Regions from separate parts of the Homo sapiens genome. Here all the other regions are linked to region 1. The links are contacts of gene promoters, found by promoter capture Hi-C in blood cells and fetal thymus (Javierre and others, 2016). All regions are on one chromosome and are shown on one strand. The core of a region is centred on a gene start or on the middle of the fragment in contact, and the rest is flanking DNA. Distances in the headings are between cores, read along the strand shown.

Region 1 (4,383 bases), core at 1,385-3,884:
CCTTTTCTCTGTGGAGCTATACAAAACACAAAAGCACAACCACATTACAAATGTTTATAAACAGAGATGCATCACGAAGTGTGCCACTCACGAGCAGTAAGAAGGAGAAATTTTCCTGGATCATGTACAGAGGGAAAGGACAGGCTTATTTATGCAGATGCGTTACACTAATTAATCAGTATTTCACATAATATTCACGAAGTGTCCAAGTCTATGCTTCTTAACTGATGTGTCTCAGTTAGGGATCTGGAGGAAAAAAAGGTTTTGCATTTTCCTTAAGATAAGAAAAAGAAAGCCTCCCACAGGGGTGAGGGAGCCTATCATTTTTTTTAAAGAAATCAAACATAAAAGAGTCCATTCCCTTTAAATATGCAATTGCATATGCATAAGATTAAACCGGAATTAATATAAAAAACATGTTTCTAAAAACCTAATACCTTGTATATGTTTAACATTTGAACTATACCCATGAAATTAATTATAACAATGTCTGTTAAATTAACGATGTAACCCACACCACATATTAGGCAAATTGTATGCAAATAGAGTGCTATGGTTATCAGTTGTCTGCAAAATAAATTAGTGAAGCAGAGTAAAGGCTGTGTGCAGAAGCATAATATCTAATTGAGCAATAATTTTATAGTAATTTTTACTTTCAAATAACAGCATTTTTTAATGTAACAATGTATTTCTACAGAGCTGATAAAACCGTGGTATCCAAAACGCCTTATAGATTAATACTGATACAGCATAATTTGCGCTTCAAGGATTTATCCGGAATTGCTGTAAAATAAAATGTATTTAAGTTCTGACTATCTTGGATTTGCAACTAAAGGAGGCATGATTGGCATAATGAAGCTGTTGGCTAAGCATATGACCCTTTTTTAAAGAAGGAAATTGCCTAAAATATCACATCAACAGGGGAAATCCTTGTAAAAATACACAGCATTCATAACCAACGGCCGCTAGTAGTTTAACATTGCAAAAGATTTCGCACTATTGGTAGGTACTACAGATCATTCTAAATACATTTTAAAAGGCAATAACCAAGAATGCAATTTTAAGCGGTTACCACTGCGCCCCCTCCCCATCTAATTCCTTAGACTGCGGGGGGAATCTGATACGTTTAAGTATTATGACAAATAAACTGTGATAATGTTTGTAGTAGGTGAAGTTTTTGAAAAGTTAATAGATATGTATATCAGTATTTATGCACACGCGCACGCACATCTCTAAGAGAGTTAACAACTTTCCAGGTCCCCAGTCACCTTTCTACCATCTTTCAAAATGTCTCAGCGACAAGTTTAGGGTATTTTGTGAAGAGCTGACTCAACCTTTGAATCTGAGCTGGAGGTCCCTTACAAAAAACTACGGCTGCCTCCCAGTGGGAGGCCGAAGGGGGTCCATCCGGTAATTAAATGTGCATTGACATCAGAGCTGCGGATTTGGGGGGCCAACTCCGAAAACCCTCAGTCTTGAAAGCCAAGCGCCGAAGTCGGCCTCGAACCAAGGTCCCCTGAGTGGTGGCCCCCAAAGCCGCTGCTCCACCCGGGAGTGCAGGGAACTTGGGCTGAGTCGGCAGAAGGAAAGGTGTGCGCGCCGCGCAGCGCAGGGATGGAGGTGGCGGCAGCGGGGGCGGTGGCCACCAAGGAAGCAGAGGGCTGCTGGCCGCACCTGGCCGTTGCCTTTCCCCCATGGCCCGCCGCGGGCGTTGGGCACCTGGAAAGTTGAGACATTTCGGGCGGGCGGCATCCGGGGCTCAAGGAGGCCAGACCGGCAAGCCGCTCCGAGAGAAAAGCTCCTGGGAGGTCGTGCGGTTCAGCCCTCGGGCGGCACCGAATTCGATGTGAGCCAAATGCAACTCTTTAGACTTGGAGCGCAAAGCGACGCTTTCGGGTCCGCATCCCTCCCTCTTCCCGCACCTCCCCCCACCCCGGCATCCGACCTAGGAGTCAGCGCGGCCGGGGCCAGAGGTGGCTGAGAGCAAGTGGGAGGGAGTCCGGGGCGCCCCCCACGACAGCTTCAGCTCCTCTTAACAAAGGCGAAAACCTCAGACTTCGCCAGGAGACTCGCTCATCAAAGGAGAAGGCAAAAATCAACACCTACCACTGCTGCTCCAAGTCCCAGTCTCTGAAAAAGTCGAATAGATCCATAGCGGCCAGGCGGCGGCGGCGGGCGGGCGCCTGTCCCTGATCGCAGCGGGTCGGCGCGGCTCTCGGCACAGCTCGCTGGCGGTTCTCGGCGGCCCCCGGCTCTCCAGCCCTCCCGCCCAGCTAAAAGTGTCCGGGCCGCATCGGCAGCAGCAGCGGGCGCTGGAGGTGTCTGGTCCTGTGCTCCGGCGAGGAAGCGGCGGCAGTGGCACTGGGCGGGCAAGCGCCTGGTCGCCCACTCGGGTCCGCTCGGTCCGCGGTAGCCCGCGCACCCAGCGACCCGACGCTGCGGCGGCAGCCGCTGCGGGCTCAGGCGGGCTGGGCCGCCCGCCTGGCTGGCTGCGGGCCGGCGGCGGCAGCGGCGGCGGGGGCGGCCGGGGCAGAGGCAGCGGCGCGGCGCGGCAGCCGGGGCGGCAGCGGCGGCGGCGGCGGCGGCGGCGGCGGCGGCGGCGGCGGCGGCGGCAGCGGCTGCACAGGCGGCGGCGGCGGCCGCGGCAGCATCACACACTTACACACTCACAGGGGGCGGAGCCTGGACAGCTAGAAGCCGCGACATGGAGCAGGCACGTTATCATCCCCGGATCTGGCAGGGGCTCGCCGCGCCCGCCCCTGCCTTTCGGGAACCCTCTCCCACCCCCCACTGTCAAAATCAGCTAGTGGGAGCGGCCACAGAGCTGAGGACCCGGACCCGGACCCGGGACGCAGGGGCCGTGGCAGGGATACAGGAGGTGGGCTGGCGGGACCAGGACGCGGGCTTCGGGAATGGGACCCCTCTCTGAAGCCCAGCCCACCCCCACCACTGGGAATTAGTTTTGAACTAGAAAAGACAGCACAAACAGCCGTGGGGTTGAAGGTCGCCCCCTGCCACCTCAAGCACAGCTCCTTGAGCCCCCGAGTAGTGGAGCAAACTTTGCGGGCCTGAGCATCCCTCAGGTCTGTAGTGCGTAGCACGCGGGTCCAGGAAGGAGAAGGCGGTCACCTTCACCAGCCCCGTGGCTCCACGTGCCCGCACCCAGGCCCTCCAGGCATGCCTTTAGGCGCGCACCTAGTAGGTCAGCGAGCTATAGGCCCTGGATTCAGTGGGCAGCAAGGATAGGAACAAATGACTGCCCTTGCGTGGTCCTTGAGTTCGGGGTTAGGATACTGTTAAACTGGGTTCCACTGTCACTTTCCTCGCACGGTCACCAGGTGCCTTGAGCAAAAGACTTCTGCTAGCTCCTCCTCTGAGAAATGGGAAAACCACTGGGTGTGTGCCCAGTATCCCACGCACCGGCTGCCCGTCTCCCTTCTGGCCTGAAATTCTCTTTCTGCACGTGGAGGGTTTAACCGAGCCTCCTACTCCCTTCAACCTCCACCTCTGATCCAGGAAGGAGTGGATCCCTTTAGCCAATTCCCTGGAGGGAAAGGTTCCCTGGCCTCCGTGCAGAGAAAGGTCTGTGGGAAGGGGCGGGACCGCTTTCTGGCATTTCAGGACATGAGCATTCTGGAGTCCTAGGCATGTAATTTGCCTTCTTCGTGTCGTTATACAGAGGGAATAGTATTGGCACATTTTTCAAATCCTAAGGCTAGAACTCTCTTGGGAAGGACAGCAGACTGAGCCCTGACAGAGCAGGGTGCCGGTAGCTCTGTGTGTGACTCCAAGCAAGTCACTTATCTGGGCCTCAGTTTCTCCATAAAACACCCAGCAGCCCTCTGGCTCATACTTCTCTGACATTCTCCCTTCTATTTGAATATGCTTCTACAGTATTATCTCATATTACCAAAATCATCCAAATACCTTTTAACTTCATTTTTTTCCTGAAGAAACAGAGACCCTAAGACATTAAAATGCTCAAGATCTGATATTTCCCCTAGAGGGGGATCCCAGATTAGAACCTAGAACCTGGGAAGCTCTTCCAGGGCTGGAGCCAGTAGAAGGTGCCTCAGCTCCAAGCATGAATGACTTCAGCATTTGAGCTACAAGGGGCCCAGGGTCTGGTCTCTTTCACATTGTTTTACGGGGGGAAAGAAAGCACATCATTAACATAGAGAAACAAGGCTCTAAGATTCTGCAACTCAAGCATCCACTGGGACTTTGCTTAGATGTCTATTTACTTTGCATGGGACCAAGTCCTCAACAGATGCTGGTTGACTGATGGAAAATCAACCAGTGGGCAGCCAAGGGGAGACGACATCTCAAAGTGGCTTGTAGATTTGGCTACCTGTAAACTCCTCTGGTCAAAAAGACTCTATG
Region 2 (4,383 bases), core at 1,005-3,504, 970 kb before region 1:
CTCGTGGCCCCAGATTGATCCTGTTCTGCCACTTGAGAGCTGGACAACATTGTGCAAGCCACTTCCCTTCTCTGGGTCTGTTTGTTCAGTGGATTGGGGAAAGTAGGTGCTCCTCTTGAGTGGGTTTTTGAGCCCTCAGTGAGCGGGTATTGAGAACATACGATGCCTGAGCAGTGTCTGGCATCTGTTCCATAAGTGTGCCTTCTCCTCTTTTTCCTTGTTCATGAGCCGTGGAGAAGGGTGTGATCCACCTGAAAGTGACCCTGATCCTGACCCTGCCATGTGGGTGACCCTGGATAAGTCTCCTTTCTGGGCTCGGGTCTTCCCATCTAGGGGCCATCCTTCCCAGCTGTCATACTCTACAGTCCTGTAAGAAGCCAGCTGTTCTGGACATAGGAGCTGTGTTCATTGTGAGCAGCAATATACATCTTATGCATTTACTTTCCTTCTTTTTGTAGACACTAGGCTTTGAAGGATCTTCCACCTCCAACCTCATACACATATATATTTCCTGACATCCTCAGGGGCAGAGAATCCCAGACTTATGTGGTACCAGGGCAGCCTGTAGCTTGACAGCCACTTCCAGGATGATGAGGACCAGGCCTGGGGAACACTTCCTGGCAGAAGGTATGCAGATGTGGGATCACCCCACAGGTTATCACCTTCAGCGGCCAGGGGAGCAGGATTTCCTCCAAAGATGCTGGGTTGTGGAAAGCACCATCTGCCTCATTCCCTGGCCATCAAGTCTTTAGACCTGCCACATCTCCCTCTGATTACCTTGCTTCATTTCCTTCATAGCATCCACCGTTTTCTGAACTTGAGTTCTGTTCTTGTTAATGGGTCATTGTACACTTCCCTGCTAGAATGTCAAGTCCAGAGAGCAAGGACCTTGTGGCATCTTACTTACCACTGTATTCTCAACACTTAGAATAGGTCCTGACAAATGTGTGAAAAATATGTATTTCATCACTTTTTAATGTTTATTTGAAAGCTCGTGAGAGAAACGGTGGCATATGAGAATGTGCCCTGAATTTGGAGTGTGAATTCTGACTCCAACCCTGACTGGCCGTGTGGCTTTGGGTAAGCGCATGAACCTCTCTGAGCCTTAATTAGTTTCCTCATGTGTAAAAGGGCATGATAGTACTATCTATCTCACTGAGTTGTTTTTAGGATATGATCAGACTATGTGAACTGTTCAGACTAAACTCAAGGTATTAGAACGGTTATACTACAGCAATATTGTCATGCATTTGGACAGCCCTTGACCTTGGGTGAGGCACTTAGGGGTTAGTGGTGATGTTGACACTAGGAATCCGGTCCCCTCATCCCTGGCCCAGACGACTTTTGATTCACAGTTAATGACCCCATCTGAGTGACCTTGGCAAACTGTCCGTACTCATGTAGAAGAAAAACCGGACTCAGATTTCCTAGTTCCCAGCATCCTTGCTTCCCCAGCTGGCCCTGAGCCACTCTTCTCACAGGATGATGGGTCAAAGGTGGGGGTGAGGGAGCAGAGGCCAAGACTTGTTTCCTAAAATGTTTCCTCTGTTGAAGGCTCCACTGTCTCTGTCATCATTTCCCACTCAACATGCAGCCCAGGCCCCTTTGGTTTTCATCCTTCTTTTGATGGGCTGCAGCTGTGTATGCTGCCGAGCTGCAGCATTCATGGGGATAGGGGTACACTTTTGCTAAGGCTAAATGCAGACCCTGTCCAAGGCTCTTTTTTCTAGGAGCTGCCCAGACCAATGTAGACAGCTTTGTCCCAGGAGACAGTGCAAAGAAACCTGACTGGGCCAGAAGTCCCTGCACCAGCTAGTTTTGCTGCTACTAACCTGCTAGGGTTTGCCATCTTTGCCAAGTTTATCTTGCCAATCCACTTTCCTAAATCAATGGCTTTAGTTAGATTCTGTAACAAGAGAAGTTGCAGCATCTGTAAGCACTTTGGCAAATATTAGAATGAGCTCGGAGCTCACGTGTGAGGACTCAGGAATAACCAGTATTGTGATTTTTTTGTTCTTTTCTTGGCCAGTTCCCCTAAAGGCCACTGGAATAAGAGACTTCAAAATAATTCACTTTACCTAAAGATGTACATTCATTCATTTGCTCATTTTCTTAATCCATCAACACAGAGTACCACCTACTCTTGGCCGTGCACACACTAGGCTGAAAGGCTTCAAAGGAGCCTGGGGCAAGATCCTCAGCTGATCAGATCTGGGCTCTAGGAGTGATACTTAATTTCAAGCTCCAGTCCCTTTGATGTGTGTGGGTTTTATTTATTTATTTTTGATGGGGCTGGGGAGGGGACCTCTATCAGGAAATGGAATAGGCTTCAATCAGCATGTAAGTATGTGTGGGGTAGGATAAGGTGGAGCAGGCTTGGAAAGCATAATTGAATTCAGTCTGGACTGGAATACAGTCCAGAAGAGGGATGGCAAGTAGATTTCTTCTTGCATGCCAAGCCCTGTTGACTGCAAAAGACTGCTGAGAGTGTATTCAGAGGATGCAACTGGGCCCAGAGGAAAAGGCCAATCCACAAAGGCTGTCATGGACCCGGGTGGGGGATCAGTAGGCAAGTGTTGGCCTGATCTTTATAGGTGGAAGCAGTGCAGGTCAAGAGATAGGGTTTCTAGTCTGAGGTTTACATCTAAGTAGTCTTGTGACCTCAGCAAGTCACCTACCTGTTCTCCGCTGTGGAATCTGAATCTTCATCTATAAGATGATGTCTTAGTTCAGCTCCCCTAGCAGCAGAGCCTGACAAGGATTCAGATACAAGTAGTTTATTTGGGAGGTTTTATTAGTCAGGATTCTCCAGAGAAACAGAACCAATAGGAAAATATATATATATATATATATATATACACACACACACACACACACACACACATATGTGTATATACACATATGTGTGTATGTAGTTGACCTTTGAACAATGATGCAGTTAGGGGCGCAGACCCTGCATATAGTCAGAAATCCATGTATAACTTTTGACTCCTCAACAACTTAATTACCAATAGCCTACTGTTGACTGGAAGGTTTATGGTTAACATTAACAGTCAATTAACACATACTTTATAGGTTGTATATATATTATATACTGTATTCTTACAACAAAGTAAGCTAGAGAAAAGAAAATGTTATTAAGGAAATCATATGGATGATAAAATTAATTTACTATTCATTAAGTGGAAGTGGATTGTCATAAAGATTTTCATCCTTATTGTCTTCATGTTGAGTAGGCTGAGAAGGAGGAGGAAGATGAGGAGTTGATTTTGCTGTCTCAGGGGTAAAAGAGGTAGAAAAGGTGGAGGAGGTGGAAAGGGAGGCAGGCACACTTGGTGTAAATTTTATTGGTGTCAATTTATCCTTATATAAGTGGACCTGTGCACTCGAAACCCATGTTATTCAAGGGTAAACCCATATATAGATGCACACACAAACATACACACCACATGGTATATACACAACTATATATATACACACACATACACACACATACGTATATGTGTGTATATATGTGTGTGTGTGTAGATATGTATATGTATATATATGCGTGTATATGTGAGAGAGAGAGAGAGTGAGATTTATTTTAAGGAATTAACTTACGCAAGGCCTTGGGGGCTGGAAAGTCAAAAATCTGAAGTGCAGGTCAGCTGGAAACCCAGAGAAGAAATGATGTTGCAGCTCAAGTCCAAAGGCAGCTAGGAGGCAGAATTCCTACTTTCTTGGGGGACCTCAGTCTTTTTCTCTTAAGGCCTTCGACTGATTGGATGAGGCTCACCCACATTATGGAGGGGAATCTGCTTTATTCAAGGAAAGCCTACTGATTTAAATGTTAATTGCATTCAAAATAAACTTTCACAGCAACATCTAGACTGGTGTTTGACCAAAAGCATCTATACTGTTGTTTGCCTAGCCAAGTTGAAACATAAAAACAACCCTTACAGAGGTGACCTCAGGAAACATTGGTAGAAGGCGAAGAAGTGATAAAGGGAAGGGAAAGTAGACAATAAAGGGTGTGTTGTCAAGTGAGTTACTACTGTGGACAACTAGAGCTGAATCCTTGTGGAGACCTCTGGGTACCTGATACAGTTTGGCTGTTTCTCCACCCAAATCTCATCTTGAATTGCAATTCCCACAGTTCCCCACCACAAATCTCATCTTGAATTGTAATTCCCACATGTCACGGGAGGAACCCAGTGGGAGGTGATTGAATTACTGGGGAGGGTCTTTCCTGCACTGTTCTCATGATAGTGAATGAGTCTCATGAGATCTGATGGTTTTAAAAAGGGGGGTTTCCCTGCACAAGCTCTCTTTTCTTCTCTTGTCTGCCATCATGTGAGACATGCCTTTCACCTTCTGCCATGATTGTGAGACCTCCCCAGC
Region 3 (4,383 bases), core at 896-3,395, 790 kb before region 1:
GTCTCACCCATGTTGCCCAAGTCATAATGGGTGAATTCATCAACACAGCAAATCTGTTCCAAACAAATTTGTTTCTATAAAGGGTCTTGGGGCTGGAGAAACACACTGCTCCTGAAAACACACTGTTTCATTCCTAAAACTCTTTCATCTCATTTGGGTCTCACCCAGTTCACTGTCAGAGACCCCCTTTTTGCAGCATCCCCTTTGTAATAATGAATAATAATCTCATTTATTTATTCAGTAAATACAAATGGTATGCCTCTAGATACAAGTCATCTCAAGGTGTTAATGTTATGGAGGTAGGCTGCCCAAGTAGGGCATGTGAGCCCCTAATTGGAAGGTGATGTAGACTCGTTCTCATAAATAAATATTCCAACTTTCTATGTCTCATTGGAAGAAAATGTTGGATTGGCTTGTCAATGGGACCAAATATGAGATTATGCGAGAGAGGCATTTCACAATTTATATGGCTGTGAAAACTGGTCTCTCATCTTCTACAAAGGGGGAGCAAACCTTGGCCAAGTGATTTCCCACCATAGTCTATGCAGAGCCACATGGCTACTATTGGTTGATTATTGAACAGATAGTAGCAAAAAAGAAGAAATACCTCAGTTCAAATTCTGGCTCTACCTCTTATTAGTTGTGTGACTTGGAGCAAGATATTTCAATTCTCTGGACCTCAGTTTCCCCAGCTATAAAATGGTGTTAATATCTGCCACACTGGGTCGTTGCCAAGGATGCAGGAGATAAAATATATGGTACACAGTATAGGACCTGCCATATAGCTTGACACACATTAATAAGAATGCTGATGAGTTGGATGTCAACTATATTTTCTGGTTAGATTTTAAAATAAGAACGATTCTGAGGGATTTTTGATGATGAATCTAAGAACAGTATTATTTAACAGACAGTACAAAATGGGTAGCTTATAAAAATTCATTGGGCTGGTATGACATTTCAGTTCTGTAGTACCTTTTGTGACTTAGAAAGGTAAGATAAACATTATTCCCACCTTCATTTTTCAACTCATTTCATTGTATGAAATCTCTTACATGCAAATTATTAGATACTTAAAAAAATGAAACAGCCACTCACTTGGGTTCTTGACCTCTTACATTTGAACAGTCTCACAATTTCTTTTATTCCAGGACAACTTAAAAGCCATCTTTATGTTAATGGTGAAATAGTTACTCTAGGTCTATTCTAATGCCTTTAATAATAGCTGGCAGTTAGAAAGGTGACAAATGCAAGTGTCCCCAGACAAATTTTGTGTCGTGGGTCTTGCTGAGGAAACATTTAGAAGAATTGCCTTTTCGTCAAATGGCTAATTGACAAGCATCTTGGCACAGGGTCAATGACTTCACCAAAGAAGAGGCCATGTTTCTGGAGAACATGTCATCCTTTGAGACCGTTAGTGAGATCCGAGTGTCTGAGTACCACTTCTATTGAGTAACAAGCAGCTGCCAGTACTCTGCTGTACTCCAGGCTTTCAGCACCCTAGAACCTGAGCTTGGACATTGTGTTCTCTAGATCCTTCCTTACTCACCATCTAAGATCTCAAACCTGGCTACCCTGTCATCTGTTTGATATTCAATCAAGAATGAGAAAAAGTCAAATCCCTCCCACCATCTCAGCAGCCGGTGTAGTTGCAATAAAGTCCATGTGCAGGTGGACTTCATTCAGAAATCTTTCTCATGGCCTCCACATAGTAGGTCGTTACTTGCCGTTGATTCCTAGGCCTACCAGCAGAGCAGAAGCAGCACTGAGATTTGAGGCAATATGTTATCAAGGCCGGGCTGCCAAAGAGTAGGAAGTTACAACTGACAGGGAAGGTGGAGATACACAACTAGTGCAAAGCTCATATTTCGATGCTGGAAATGCACACCCTTCACACACACACACACACACACACGCACACCACCACAAGCTGTCCCTTCTTTGGAGCAAGACAGTATTTCTAGGAGGTCCCTGTTGAATATCTTTAGGGTCCATATATGGTGGGAAAACCTGTTACTAACTTTCCACTGAGGTAAGCAACATGGCATGCTAGAAGGAGGCTAGCACAGAAAAAACAACATTGAGCTTGGGTATCCCCATGATCTGATAGTTCTTATAAGAAGGTGGAAACTGGGGACTGAGTTCCAAGTCTGTCTCTAACTCACTGTGTGACCTTGGGTAAGTCCCTTCTCTCTGGGCCACTTGCTCTCCAAATAGGATTGCATAAAACCAGCAATTGAGTTTAAAAGACATTCAACTGCTATTATTCTGTGGATATCCCTGAAGCTATAGAAACTGAGAGCTACATGTCCTGCCAGTCCATTGAAGGACAATTGGCTTATTCTACTGTAAAAGGAAAGCACTTTGTGAAGTTTAGTATCTTCGAGGTGGTTTCTAGTTTGACGTTCCTGGCCATGCCGTTATGCCTGTTGGTGAGTACATGCACATGGAAGATGGAGAAGGAAGGGGACAATAAGAGCATTGTTACCCCTGGTGCTTCAGTAAGTCTAGCCACATGTGTTTGCCTATGAGGGAAAAGTGTTTCTTCTCATCTCCTCCCCAACGACCCAGAGAGGCAGAGACTGGGAAAACAAGGGGCAGAGCTGCCTTCCCTATCCCCTTTCCAGCACCCGTCTCACTCAGAAAGCCCTTTGGGCTTTTGCGACCTCACTATTTATTTCTGACCTCTGGCCTCTAATTATACTTACCGTTACGGGTAGAATTTTGTCCATAGCCCCGCTATATGGTTTGAAATTTTGTCTCCTCCAAACCTCATGTTGAAACTTAACCCCAATTTGGCAGTATTGAGAGATGGGGCCTTTGAGAGGTGATTGGGTCATGAGGGCTCTGCCATCATGAATTGATTAATTCTCTTTTTTTTCTTTTTTTGAGACAGAGTCTCACTCTGTTGCCCAGGCTGGAGTACAGTGGCACAATCTTGGCTCACTGCAACCTCCGCCTCCTGGGCTCAAGCAATTCTCCTGCCTCATCCTCCCAAGTAACTGGGATTACAGGTGCCCACGACCACGCTTGGCTAATTTTTGTATTTTTAGTAGAGACGGGGCTTCACCATGTTGGCCAGGTGGTCTTGCACTCCTGACCTCAAGCAATCTGCCTGCTTCAGCCTCCCGAAGTGCTGGGACTACAGGCGTGAGCCACCGTGCGTGGCCAATTAATTCATTTATAGATTGATGGATTAATGGATTAATGGGTTATCGTGGAATTGGGACTGGTGGCTTTATAGAAAGAAAAAGAGAGACAGTTCAGCCTCCACAACTGTAAGCAATAAATTTCTTTTCTTTATAAATTACCCAGTTTCAGATATTCTGTTGTAAGCAACAGAAAACAGACTGAGACAACCCCTAAATTCATATGTTAAAGTCCTAAACCCTAGTATCTCAGAATGTAATCTTATTGAGATGAAAATCATCTTTTAAGATGTAATCAAGTTAAGATGAGGTAATTGGGATGGGCCCTAACCTAATAACCTGTGTCCTTATAAAAGGGGACATTTGGACACAGAGATGGATATGCACACAGGAAGAACACCATGTGAGCATGAAGGCAGAGATCGGGGTGATGCTTCTATAAGTCAAGGAAACAGCCCTGCAAACACCTTGATCTCAGATTTCCGGCCTCCAAACCTGTGAAAAAATACATTCCTGTTGTTTAAGCCACCCAGTTGGTGGCATTTTGTTACAGTAGCCTCAACAAGCTAAGACACTTGCTTTCTTACTTCTGCCACTCAACAGGTCACATGAGCTCATAACCTCTAGCAGAGCTCTCAGGGGATGAAATAGGCTTGTGTCAATGTGCTTGGATAGTATGGTGTCTTAGTTTAGGCAGCTATAACAGAATAACCATAGACTGGATGGCTTAAATAATAAACATTTATTTCTCATATTTATGGAGGTAGGGAAGTCCAAGATCAAAGTGCTGATAGATTGTCTAGGGAGGGCTCTTGTCCTGGTTTGCAGATGATCATCTTTTAGCTGTATCCTCACGTGGTCAAGAAAGAGATCATCTCTCTTGTTTCTCTTCTTGTAAGAGCAGTAATCCCATTCATGAGGGCTCTACCTTTATAACTTAATTACCTCCCAAAGGCCTCACCTCCCAATTACATCCTATTGGGGATTGGGCTTCAACATATAAATTTGAGGGGTAGGTACACAAACATTCAGTCCATACCATATGCTTCAGGAAGAATACATTCTAGTCTGTGCTTTGCCATAAAAAAATCTAACTGTGAGACTAAGGGAAAGGGACTTTCTTTTCTGGGCCTGTTCCCTTTCTGTAAATGAGTTGTTACTTTTAATTGATAAAATGTTCACTCTAGTTTTTAGGGAGCGAAATTTTCCTTTTTCAAAATCATTTTTTTTGTGT

Evidence for each region. The method cuts DNA at HindIII sites, captures the fragments that hold promoters and counts their contacts. A CHiCAGO score of 5 or more calls a contact.
Region 2: a fragment that was not itself captured here is called in contact with the fragment with the promoter of AFF2 in region 1 in 1 of 17 cell types (M1 macrophages); the score reaches 5.9 in M1 macrophages.
Region 3: a contact is called between a fragment that was not itself captured here and the fragment with the promoter of AFF2 in region 1, in 1 of 17 cell types (M0 macrophages). The highest score is 5.6, in M0 macrophages.

Annotation. Positions count from the first base shown.
Region 1 is chrX:148,498,868-148,503,250 of GRCh38, reverse strand. It overlaps AFF2 (ALF transcription elongation factor 2), which reads right to left and starts at 2,634. Exons shown (of 21, transcript NM_002025.4): 1 at 2,107-2,634. The coding sequence starts at 2,153. RefSeq lists an enhancer at 1,097-1,974. The HindIII fragment of the contact is 5,176 bases long and covers 1-4,383 here.
Region 2 is chrX:149,465,230-149,469,612 of GRCh38, reverse strand. No RefSeq gene overlaps it. Among named protein-coding and RNA genes, the nearest start is that of IDS, 38 kb to the left of the region's middle. The HindIII fragment of the contact is 5,578 bases long and covers 1-4,383 here.
Region 3 is chrX:149,291,124-149,295,506 of GRCh38, reverse strand. No RefSeq gene overlaps it. Among named protein-coding and RNA genes, the nearest start is that of IDS, 210 kb to the left of the region's middle. The HindIII fragment of the contact is 6,670 bases long and covers 1-4,383 here.